Linked DNA regions of Homo sapiens: region 2 is linked to region 1. The links are contacts of gene promoters, found by promoter capture Hi-C in blood cells and fetal thymus (Javierre and others, 2016). All regions are on one chromosome and are shown on one strand. The core of a region is centred on a gene start or on the middle of the fragment in contact, and the rest is flanking DNA. Distances in the headings are between cores, read along the strand shown.

Region 1 (6,084 bases), core at 1,296-3,795:
CTGAGAATGATGATTTCCAATTTCATCCATGTCCCTACAAAGGACATGAACTCATCATTTTTTATGGCTGCATAGTATTCCATGGTGTATATGTGCCACATTTTCTTAATCCAGTCTATCATTGTTGGACATTTGGGTTGGTTCCAAGTCTTTGCTATTGTGAATAATGCCGCAATAAACATACGTGTGCATGTGTCTTTATAGCAGCATGATTTATAGTCCTTTGGGTATATACCCAGTAATGGGATGGCTGGGTCAAATGGTATTTCTAGTTCTAGATCCCTGAGGAATCGCCACACTGACTTCCACAATGGTTGAACTAGACACTCCTGTTTTTAAAACCATCAGATCTTGTAAGACTCATTCACTACCACGAGAACAGTGTAGGAAAGACCCACCCCCATAATTCAATCACTCCCACTGGGTTCCTCCCACGACACGTGGGAATTGTGAGAGTTACAATTCAAGATGAGATTTGGGTGGGGACACAGCCAAACCATATAAGATGAGGTGCAGAGGATGCCTGGGCGACTAAATCAATGGTTTCCAAAGGATTTAATGTAATGCCCTTAAGTAGTTTTTTTCTCCCAAGGTAGTTTCTTTGAAGTTAAGCAGCATGAGACTTCCAGGTTGGTGGATGAAGAACCAGGGAAAGATAGAAACTGCCTTTTTTATAATGTAGGGCTCAGTTAAGTATTCAAAGTTCCAAGGAGGCAATTCAGGCCCCCATTTCACACCTTTCACTGTTAGAGAGCAGAGCTCCTATCCATCCCAGGCCCTTCCACTTTGTAGATCAATTGCTCTATCTTTTGGCAGCTTCAACAAAGCCCTGTCTTATGAAAATGCTTTATTGTTCAGATCAGGGACCTGGTAGTAAAAATTAACTATAAAATACTTTTTTTTCTATTATGCAAGTAATGGGTAGCCTTTTTAAAAATTGGAAACATAGAGAAAAAAGTTTATTCCTAACAACCGGAGCCTCAGTGGATTAAAATTACTCAGGTTTCTCACTGATGCTACATGCCCATTGAACGTCAGGTGGGGACTCTGCACTGCTTTAGTCTCACTCTGGATACTGGCTGACAGACCACAGCTTTCTAGAATATTGCGGCCGAGGAAAAGAAAGCTTTGCGGCATCTCATACATCTCATATTGCTGCTGCAGAAGTGACAGTCACTTTTCCTCTTAAACCTCTAGTCAAAACTTGTAACCATGCCTCCACTTAACAAGAGGTTTGGAAAGTGCAATTCTGCCATGTAGGGAAAGGTATATGAACAGTGGTAAGGGCTACCACACTGGAGAATAGCTCCTTTCATCTGCCTCCCTTTGCAGCCTGCGTCCCTAGTCCATGCGCTCTACTGCTCCAGTGCCCACCACTGCTTGACTCTGCCTTTGTGTGTGTCAGTTCACATTATCAAGAAGGACCATGACTGGTAGCTCTACGGATGGAGGACCCTTTTGTAGCAGGTGTTCACCCTGTGCCCAAGCCGCAGTGCCTAGAAGAGTGGGGATGGGTCTGTGGCTCCTATCAGGCTGCAGGAGTTGCGGAGACAGAAAAAGTATTTCTAGGACTCCCATTTGGCCTTGCAGTCTCTACACATCCTTGGCAATTTCTCCCATCTTGGCTTCTCCTTCTTATCACTTTGGTCCACATACGGGGACAGCGTCTAAGTTCTTTCTGACCACCTCCTCAGTCCTAGAAAAACCAGACTTGGTTAAGTACCAGAGCACAGAAGGCATTTAGTGCTGCTCTGCTCCCAAGTCATCTATTAGTTTCACTTTAGCCAGCCATACCTCCTTGGTTACATATGAAGCATCTGTATATAACTTAGTATCATGCTTTTTCACATTATATTTTGATTTTTATCGGACCGGAAACCCTAAATCCACAAGCATAACAACAAGATCACATTTGGGCTTTTTCATTTCTGTAACCAGAGGATTGAACGCTAGTTTTGTAGTAAGACTTCAATTCTATTTATCCGTCCAGGCTTAAGGGTTCCTGTTCTTCTTTTTAAGTCATTAAATTGTATCAGACAAGGGGGAAAACGCGTGTGTGACTTTCCCTAAGGTAAGATGGGCTTAAGGGATATTGAAACCAGGGCAGAGAAATGTTTTCTGTGACCCACCAGTCAGGGCAAGGCATAGAAGGAGCAATGACTTATTCATTAGCCCAGATAGAAGGCCAGTCTTTTTCAGGCTGCGGCGCAGAGACGCCAGGCTCAAAGGGCAGGAGGGCCGTCTGCAGGCAGCGCCGCCGCGGCTACCTGGAAGCCCAGCAAGTCACCTGAGTCCTGCGGGTGCCTGGGCTGCCAATCTGCAGCGACCCGTCCGCAGCCCCCGGGGGCAGGAACACCAACCCCGGGACAGGAGGACGTCCTCGGCCCGCTGACTAGGGATCCGCCAGCGGGTGCCGCTGAGCCACATCCCCGCAGTTGGCGCCAGCATCCAGGTACCGCGCGCCACAGCACCTGCCTGGGCGTTCCCGCGCTTGGGGCGGGGCTTCCCGCGTCCCCTTTAAGAGGCCGCATCACCCGCCCTTGACGTCAGAGTGTTTCTCCGCAAGAGCCCGTGTCCCGCTAGGCTCCGCGCCCTCGCGCCCATAGCCCCGGCGGCGGCACGACCAGAGGCGGCCAGGGGAGCGCGCCGCCCCGCTCGGCCCTCCAGTCCCCCTCCGCCTCCTCCCTCCCGCACAGCAGCCGCCAGCGCGGCCTCCTGCACCATGTCGGTGGCCGGCCTCAAGAAGCAGTTCCATAAAGCCACTCAGGTAAGGCGCGCGGCAGGTGCGTCCCGGGGCAGTCCGGGGCGAAGCTGCGAGGGGCGCGCTCGGCGCTGGCCGTCCGGCGGCAGCTTGGGGAGTTCGGCACCGAGCCTCGCCCGCGCCGGCCGCGCCCCGCCTCGCAAGCCAAGGCGGCGGCTCGGGGCATCCCCGGTCTGGGCGTCCACCCTCGGTCCCCCGCCCCCGGCTTGGTGCGCGCTGCCTTCCCGCGGGTCCCCGGCGTCCTGCCTGGTAGCGCTGCTCGCCGCCCCCGCATCATCTCGCGCCCGTGCTGCAGGAAGGGGACCGCGGCTGCACTGCTGCCGCGGCGCGCAGGTGCCTTGGCGGCGCGGTGGGAGATTATGTAAAGTCGCCTCTTCACGGGTGACCTTGCGGAGTCGGTGCACCCGGCTTTCCCGGGATGTGTTGGCATGAGCGGTGGCCGCACTGGGGGTGGCGGGGCGGAGGCCGGCGGTTTGCGCTCCTCTCCCTTACCCTGTTGTCAGAACCCTCCTTCCCCGCCGCCCGCAGGCTCCAGGGGAATGGAAGGCTGGGGTCTTCCTTTAGGGACCCGCATACATTAACTTTTACCTGGAGAACTCGGTCGTGAAACTCCTTTGAGGCCAGGGCATGACAAACAGTCTGCGGGTCTTAAATATTTCCCTAAAACAACCAAATTGTTGAAGACTTAAAATCATCATGTATTTTAAATTGTTTTTAATAAATCTTTGGCATCTTGGATGTGCCCATTTTTCTTTATGGGGTTAATAAGCTGTGACTGTAATAAAACTGATTAATTTAGATTCTAATAATTAAAATCATTGGACTCAAAGAATTTTACATAGGGGCAAGTAAGCGAATACTTACGCTGTGACCTATTTCTTACATAATGTGTGTGATTACTACTTTTTTATCCTTCTGAAATAGGTTCAAATTTATGGGATCTTTAAGGATTTTGATGACTTACCGCGAAATGTTTTTCATGATTTGGTGTTAAATAGTTTTTCATAGGTTAGCCTTAATTAACGAGCTTTCTCATAATTTCTCGGAAGTAGTGAGGTTTTTCCTAGGCTACCACAGTGGCAGCCTTGTTATGAACCACATCCAGAAAAGGTGAGGGTTGTGTTTTACAGAACCTTGGTTAACTTAGGGTGACAGATGCAGCATGTAATTCCCGTCGTGTGTGTGTTTGCACGCATCTGCATCATCTTCATCACACATTCTTGCCTTTATAGAATCAATTATACCTGTCAACTTAGGAAATCAAGAAAAGTAAGACTATTTCTGTAAAAATGTTTCTTAATGTAATTATTTTTGCTTTTCTATTATAATTGGAGTTATCTGTGACCTCTCTGCCAGACATGTTTATGAAAGTAAGTGATTTGTTTGTTGATGTAGTTTGGAAGGCTTCTAATAACTTTATACTGCAAGTTCTTTCAGGTTTACAGAACCAAGCATATGTGCTGCCCAGGAATTCTGTGGCAGGACTTCTTCGATATTACTAACCTTTTTGATTGCTCTACTGGTCACTTCTCTATAGCATATCTCAGCACTGCGTTTACCAACACATCTTTTTTCCACTTGGATTCTAAAGATTTCTTTTGCAAAGCTTAGTGCCCTCAAAGGCAATTAAGAGTCTTGGCTTTGGAGTGGGAAAGGCTAAGGTTTGAATCCTGCCTCTGCTGCTTCTGACCTTGAGAGAGTATTTAACTTCTGAACCTGTCCATGCTGAAGTGATGATAATTTCCGTTGTCTCTTCAGGGTTGAGGTGAAGAGAAACGAGTGTGTAGAACACACGTATAAAGTGTTCAATAAATTATAGTTATTGACATAAAGGATATTTTTATTAGTATAAAATACTATCCCTTATGCTGTGAAGAAGTTACCCAAGCTAGACCTTTTAGTTTTTCCAACTTAAAAAATAGAGCGCTCCATTTCCGCTAAATCTTGAAGTTCTGTGTCGCCCTAAAGTGTAGAAAAAATAATTTAAACTGCGTTAGGAAAGAACTTAAAAGGTTGGAGAAGGTCGGCATGTGATGCGATACGGTTAATGTTTATCACACCGAATCCAAATGCAGAATCACTGCGTCATTGTCTTCCTTTTACTGAAAAGCCTTTTATTTGAAAGGTGAAGCAGCACGTAGTCTCTTATCCATAATTTAGTGTAGCACACTCTTAGAAAGTCTAAGGCACAGGTGACTGTTCTGTGCATATGTATATTTAGGAGAGTATGTAAAGCCCATGTTAATGTTTGCATGTGACAAAAAAATTAGAGAAATAGTCCTGTCCTACTTTTGTAGCCATTTTTTTCCATCAGGTCCGTGAACCTGATGTTATCTACAGAGAAGCTTTAGACCTAGAATTACTTCCTTTTGAGAACTGATGTGCTGGATAATATAGCCTGGGTTTGTTTGTTTGTTTATTTATTTATTCATTTGAGACAAAGTTTGACTCTTGTCGCCCAGGCAGGAGTGCAATGGCGTGATCTCAGCATACTGCAACCTCTGCCTCCTGTGTTCAGGCGATTCTCCTGCCTCAGCCTCCTGAGTAGCTGGGATTATAGGCATGCACTACCACGCTCAGCTAATTTTTGTATTTTTAGTAGAGACAGGGTTTAGCCATGTTAACCAGGCTGGTCTCGAACTCCTGACCTCAGGTGATCTGCCCGCCTCGATTACAGGCTGAGCCCCCGCACCTGGCCTATAGCCTGGGTTTATAAGTGGAAGGAGTCTGTTCACGCAAACGTTTCTTTCTATGGAATTGAGCTTTTTTGCTTGTGTTAGTAAGCGATGATAAATAAAACAGTATATTGTTTGTACTTGGAATTTCTGATTAAATGTGTCACAACTGTTGTCTTATATTAGAATTGGTTATTTCTACCTTGTTGCTGACAGTTATTTTCAATATGTTTACAATTTGGAGGTAAAAAAATGCTTTTGCCAAGTAAAATTTATTAGAGAAGAAAATCCTTTCAGCATGAAAATATATAATGATACCAAAAATTGATTGATCATCTTATTTTCATGTACTTCATTACTTAATTGCTCATAAAGATATAATTTACTGTATAATTAGAATAAAGTATTCTTTTTTTACTGTAATAAAGGGCAGATGATCTTGTGTTGCTCTTTTAGTGAGTTTTATTCATATTGAGATTTCATTTTACAAAAGTCATGTCAGTTTTTTTACACTTGTTTTAAACTGGCAGCAGCTTAGTTAAAAATAGCTGTTTCCAGTGAACATGAAGCTCCTACAAAATCTGTATTTTTAAAAATTCACTCTATCATGCATATGATGTGGACACATTTTGCTTTACAATATGTAAA
Region 2 (6,084 bases), core at 1,782-4,281, 610 kb after region 1:
TGGAGTTGATTGTGTTACTTTTTCATATGGTTCCAGAACATCCTTCAGAGTCCCACTCAACCCTACACACCGGCAGTCTTTAGGAATTAGTTGGCACTGGCATTCAGTCAGTAGTAGAATTGAGAAGTTCCTGGGATTTTGAATTCTATGGGGTCTTTCCTGTCTGGCTTATCCCTTGTGCTTCCTCAGTGGCAAATGAAAACATGAACTATGCAAGTGACCTTTGATGAGACGCTATCTGGGAACATAATTGTCTTCAAATAGGTATACTCTAGAAGATGAATTTACTTTTACTAGATGAGAAAGGATGCAAATAGGTGAAAATCACTGGAAGACAACTCTTAGAGGATTTTCAGATATATTTTTAAGGGAAAATAGTGCAATAATTAGAGCTGCGCCATTAGGTGGTGAGTTCTTTATTGACAAAGCTACTTGAATGGATTCTGGCAGCAGCAAACTGCCGGGGATATTAGAAAGGGAAGATTCATGGGTCAACCCTCCTTGGTGCTTTCACTATATTTTGTACATATTCTTTATGGTTTCTTTACTTTATTGTTTTGTAATTATCTGCTTATCTATTTTCCTATGTATTTGATGATGATGATTAATTTGCTGAACACCGTTATGGGCCAGGCAGCATTAAGGGCTGTTGGCATCGTTTTTCATTCGCTACAAGAGTGTGAAGCAGAAAGGATCTCCATTCAACTAGTGAGGAAACTGAGGCTTGGGAAGGTTAAATAGCTTGCTTAGGTCACACTGTTAGCACCTTTGTGCTCTTTATCGCTGTACAGGTTCCCAAGACAATTAGTGGCTGAGCAATGCTTGGATGAGAATGGTAATAGGCTTGAGTAAATGGGAAAAGCTGTATCCTAAGTAAATCGTTTATATTTCCCACCAGCTAATTGGAGACAGGCGTTAAGAGGAAGGAATTAGTTCCACTCCACAGTTGCCAGGCTGAGTTGTGTACTGCTTCCAACTGAGGTGGGAGCTGGGGAGTGAGGGGATGCATGAGAACATTGTTCTAATTGAGATCGTAGAGAAAATTTGCTCTCAAAATGGCTGTGGATAGTCACACTGCAAATTTGTTTGAGTTAATTTCATTAATTAAAAAACCTTAAGTATTAGATAAATTTTACCATTGTCATTCACAAAGCAGCAGACTTCCCAGTTGATCTAAGCTGGTTCTATAGAAGGCTATGTGGTGTCTGTATAAGATTTTTCTCAAGACAACTAGCAAGCAAATACAAATTCTTATATCAGGCCAGTTCCTACAAACCTAAGAAGCCTTTTTATATATTCCAGAGGGCAAGATTTAACGCCCTTTTCCACCCCCAATTTGGTAAAATTAAATAAATAAATAAAACTTAAAAGTTACAGATATGTCATAGTTTGAAATATGTATGCCCTTCTTATTCCTCATCCATGGAGCTCCCTGCAACTGTATAGGGTAAAAGCCTGATAGCAACTAATTTTTACTAGGAAATTAACTCCTTCAGCTCCCACCATTATACATGTCTTCCACTCTATTATAGAACTGTGTTTGGCAAGATATGTTTTTTTAAAAAAAACTCCTCAAGTTTCTTTCTTTTATGCTGGCCAGTTCTGTGGACTTTTAAACTCTCTGAGAACTACCTTTTGAAAGGTTTTTGTACTCTAGCATGTATTATTCAATAAGTCATTCTCAACAAGTAAGTCAAATAAGCATATTAGTCTGTGTGCTGCATTTTAAAAGAGCCTGTTAAACTGGCTGCTTTTTGGCAGTTTGCCCAATTAAAGGTTGTCATAATGAATCTATCTAGAACAAGAATGAGCCTGGTCAGGTTTCAAATGAAATGTATGTTTTTGTATAAGTAACCTCTAAGGGGATCCAGCACTGCACATTGCATAATGTGATACAATAGTCACAGAAGCTCAGAAATTCAGGGGAATGAAGTGTAGCATAGTCCTCCAACTATGTCATAGATTAATCAAAATGGTTTAGTGTCAGCTTTTGCTTTCAAATTCCAGCAACTAAGAAGACAGCTTATTTTCATAAGGATATCATGATGTGTGTGTGTATTTTAAGTGGAATGTTATATGAATGAGTTACGCTTGTCCAACCAACTCTTTTTAATCCTTGACCATTTAAATGGAAAATCCATCTAAGCTGACTTTATTCCATGGAAGTCACTTTTCAGTGGGAGAGATTAGGAACTGTCATTGTGACCAGCACACTCTTGTACTTTAAACAGAGGACTCTTATTATGCTTGTCTGAATTATGTCCTTTATTTTGTTAATCAGAGTGCCTATTTCAACCCGATTTCAAGCCAGGCTTTTATTGATTGTTCCCAAACTGGGAGATAATTCAGCTATTTACAAGATAAGCATTGATTTCTCGCACTGAGTCTAACAGCAGCTTTCTCCAAATTTGAACCCATTAAATAAATCCTGCTGAAGAATTATAACTGTTGTTTGAAATGTGACTAAAAATTTGACTAAAATAATTATTGCATATTAATTTTTAAGTATTAAGCTTATTGTTTGCTCCCGTCCATTTGATAACCATTCTCCTTGGCTTAACAAACTGCTGGTTCTTCCCATCAGTGTTCATAAATTCCATGACAAGACTGGAAAGACCAGTTCTGACCACCCACCAATAAGTGGCGCTATGTCTTTGCCATTCCAGAGAAGTGGGTTTTGCTCCATCGTACCCCTAGGGCACATGAACCTACTTGTTTTCTTGTTAACTGGCCTACAGGTGTCAAAATAATCCAAATTTCCACAAGAAATCTAGAATGATGTTACAAGTAAGCAGATGAAAATTATCCTCTCATAATTGTTTTTACAGTGGTAAAGGGAACAGCAGAGGACTCCAAAAGAAATATTTAGGTCATATATTTCTGCTGGCAGGTGCCAGTTGAGGACTGGGTTCAGACTGGAATGCTTATGAGCAGGCCTAGATAGTTTGTATGGGTGGCTGCTTGCCAGGCAGTCATCTGGTCCCGGGGATAGGGGTCAGGGAAAGAAGAAACTGGCTGCTTGACCTTCCCCTGTTCCTATGCACCCTCTGAAAAATTGCTAGTAGGAGCTTCTGTTGATGTGCTTCAGCACTCCAGAGCTCCTGTCTTGTCCAGCCACCCTCAACCCTTGAGACTGAGGAGGACAGGCCCTGCATTGACTGGGAGGCCCAGAGAGGAAACTGGGAGACTGATGGCATCTCAGGCGACAGAGACCAACCACACTAAGCCACTTTCTTCTTCAATCCATGGAGGCATAAACGTCAGAGAAGGAACCTCACAAGTTCAGCCTACAGCCTAATGAAAGTGGCCTGTTACCTTGGACAGGACCTGAGCCCTTAGCTGAGCCTCAGATCCCTGAACCCAAGAAGGTTCCTTAAAGGCTCTGGCCTTGGCAAGAAGACTTCTTCCCTGAATCTAATTACCAGCTTAAAGTTCACAGTTGCCAGCATGGATGCCCAACTTCCACAAATTTCCAGGCCCGATTATTAGTATATCACTTAAGACTGCAAATAATTGTGGTAACTGGCATCAATTCTTAGAGGGCTTTGTGAAGCTTATTATTCCAGTGACTTGTCTTACTTTATTTCTCAAAATATTTTGTTATGCCCATATTCTCTCTCCATTTCATGAAGTTACAATACAACACTTGAAGGGAGCCTTTGAAAAAGAGAGTAATAAAAGGGATTCTTAGAATCTTGCAATGAAAACCTTATTGTTACTTTAATTATAATTGTGTAACTGGCCCTCTGATAAGTGCAATTAAGATCTTCTTGTAATGAAATACACTGGGTATGATCGTTACGGTGTTTGACATTGATGGTATTCTTTCCTAAAAGTGGTACATTTCATGGTCATTTTCTCATGTTGCTATCTTCATGCTTAAAATTAATTAAGTCCATTTAACTTTTCTAATAGGAATATTTGGATTCTTTGTTGCTGACCTTTCTACTCTTGCAATGACTTATTATATTTCATCCTTCTATGCTTCAATAAATCAATAATGGTGTTTCTATGAAAGATTTATTTCCTAAGACTTTGTTTGATATTGAAAACATCACCACTTAGAGCATGTCAGGAAGGCTAAATTCTAAATTAAGTTGCTCTCTGTCCTGGGCAAAATCTCCTTATATTTCAGTTTCTTCAAATCCCCTAAAGAAGTCATATCAAATTGACTCTCTAGATTATGATTATAAACAGATCAAATGTAACACAACTTGAGCCTATCATGGGGCTGTTCAGAAATTCGTCCTACCATATGTGTCTAATGTTGAGTGGAGTATTAAGCTTGCTGAACCTTTCCATGATTTAATTGTCAAAATGGCTTTGGAAAAAATTAATAATATTTTGGAAGCTACAGTATTCTCCAGTGTTTTTCCATGGTACTGAACCATGATTTTTGGAGAAGACATTTCTAAATTTCTTTTACTGGATAATTTTTGGATCACCTAGCAAATATTCAGTACTACACTTTTACTAGACTCAAAAAACATTTACAGTACTGTTTATAAGAAGAATTAATACAGAAAAAAGTGCAAAACCAAAAATATACAATGCATGGTTTTAGAGAATGAAAGAAAAGACTGGCCAACTTAGAGTATTTTCATATCCCTATTCCTAGTAGGTTTTATTTATGCAATATGCATTTATTGAGCAGCTTATTGCAAGCACTGTATGAAACATATACTTTAAAAGTAGATCATTTCTGCTTGCTGCAATTCCTATTTTAACTTTATATATAATATACACAGGAACTATCTAACCAGAGAAATAAACGATATAAGGAATACTTCAAAAAAAATGTGCTGAAGACATTAAGAGTGTGATGAGTGACCATGGAGTCAATGTATTAGATCTAGATTTCCTTTTCCAGGTTTTTTTGGTTGGGCTAAATAAATAAATAAAGCTGCTCTTGTTTGGGTTTCCCATTCCTCTCAGAACTCATCCCCAGCAGATTCAAATAACTTTCAAGATTGTATTCAAACTCAAGAATCACTACAGGTGTGTCAAGTCACTATAAGATTCAAATCGTTTTGAAAAGATGACCCTGGGAGTGGTGAGATCAACATAGAATGCAAGTTGACTAGGAATGGGGAAGAATCATATAGAAATTATGTTTATGGCAGCCACAGTGGGAGGACATGATAACATGGAATATGCAGGGGAAGAGGAGGAATCGGGAACAGTTACAGTAGGATCCATGGTGCCTCTGCTAGCAATGGAGCTGTTCAGAAAAGCTCCTTTGCCTTGGAAGAAGCCTTTCTCTCCTCTTCTGGCTCTCTCTCTCTTCCTCTGGTTCTCTCCCTCCCCACTCTTTTTCCTTTATCTATTAAATTTCAGAGATTGCTTTGATGTCCAAATCCAGATGTGAGGACATGAAAGGAAGAGAGGAAAATAGAATAAAAGAGATAATGGGGAAATGGAAGGAAAAATAGAACTACAATTTGTCACACTCATCAAAAGGGAAAGGACAGGCCGTCTGTTTGGACAGCCTACTCCCATAGCCACATAATTTTCCTTTCACTGGGTCCCTGTATGGACTTTGAGAAGCAGATCTCTCTATGCCATAAACCTAGGGTTTTTTGGGGCAAAGACTGACTGCCCTTTTCTTTATCCTCCCAGTCCCTTATTATTTGAATCCCTGTATTAAAATTGTTTGCACACACTCATGTTTTATCAGATTTTCTTGTAAGGATGGGCAAAATGCATTACAATTCTCCACTGTATACATATACTAATTTAGTGCTATTTAGTAGCTTCTTTTTGTTGTAGGTAATAATAACAACCATGATGATAGCAGAAAAGAGCTATTGAATTTGGCGGGGAGAAATGTGACTGATAAACCTACTGAAGAGGACAGTTGGAGTGATAGTGAAACTGTAACTGGAAAAAAAATAGGGTTCTGAGAAGTAGGATGTGTAGGAAGAAAAAAAGAAGAGCATTTGTTTGAACTCAGTGCTAAAGTGATGACCTTAGTCTCCTCCTTTGACCGTGGGGGGAGAAAAAAGCATATTAAACCCTGAGAATAAAAAAGTGGCTAAGTCAAGTTATTTTTTTAAATAAGAGATTTGAACATATTTACAGGCA

The links. Contacts are between HindIII fragments. The CHiCAGO score rates a contact against its expected background, and 5 or more counts as called.
Region 2: a contact is called between a fragment that was not itself captured here and the fragment with the promoter of SH3GL2 in region 1, in 1 of 17 cell types (endothelial precursors). The highest score is 5.2, in endothelial precursors.

What each region holds. Positions count from the first base shown.
Region 1 is chr9:17,576,521-17,582,604 of GRCh38, forward strand. It overlaps SH3GL2 (SH3 domain containing GRB2 like 2, endophilin A1), which reads left to right and starts at 2,546. Exons shown (of 9, transcript NM_003026.5): 1 at 2,546-2,767. The coding sequence starts at 2,723. RefSeq lists a silencer at 1,358-1,556. The HindIII fragment of the contact is 3,241 bases long and covers 1,125-4,365 here.
Region 2 is chr9:18,188,217-18,194,300 of GRCh38, forward strand. It overlaps a transcript of ADAMTSL1 not described here. Among named protein-coding and RNA genes, the nearest start is that of ADAMTSL1, 280 kb to the right of the region's middle. The HindIII fragment of the contact is 1,040 bases long and covers 2,512-3,551 here.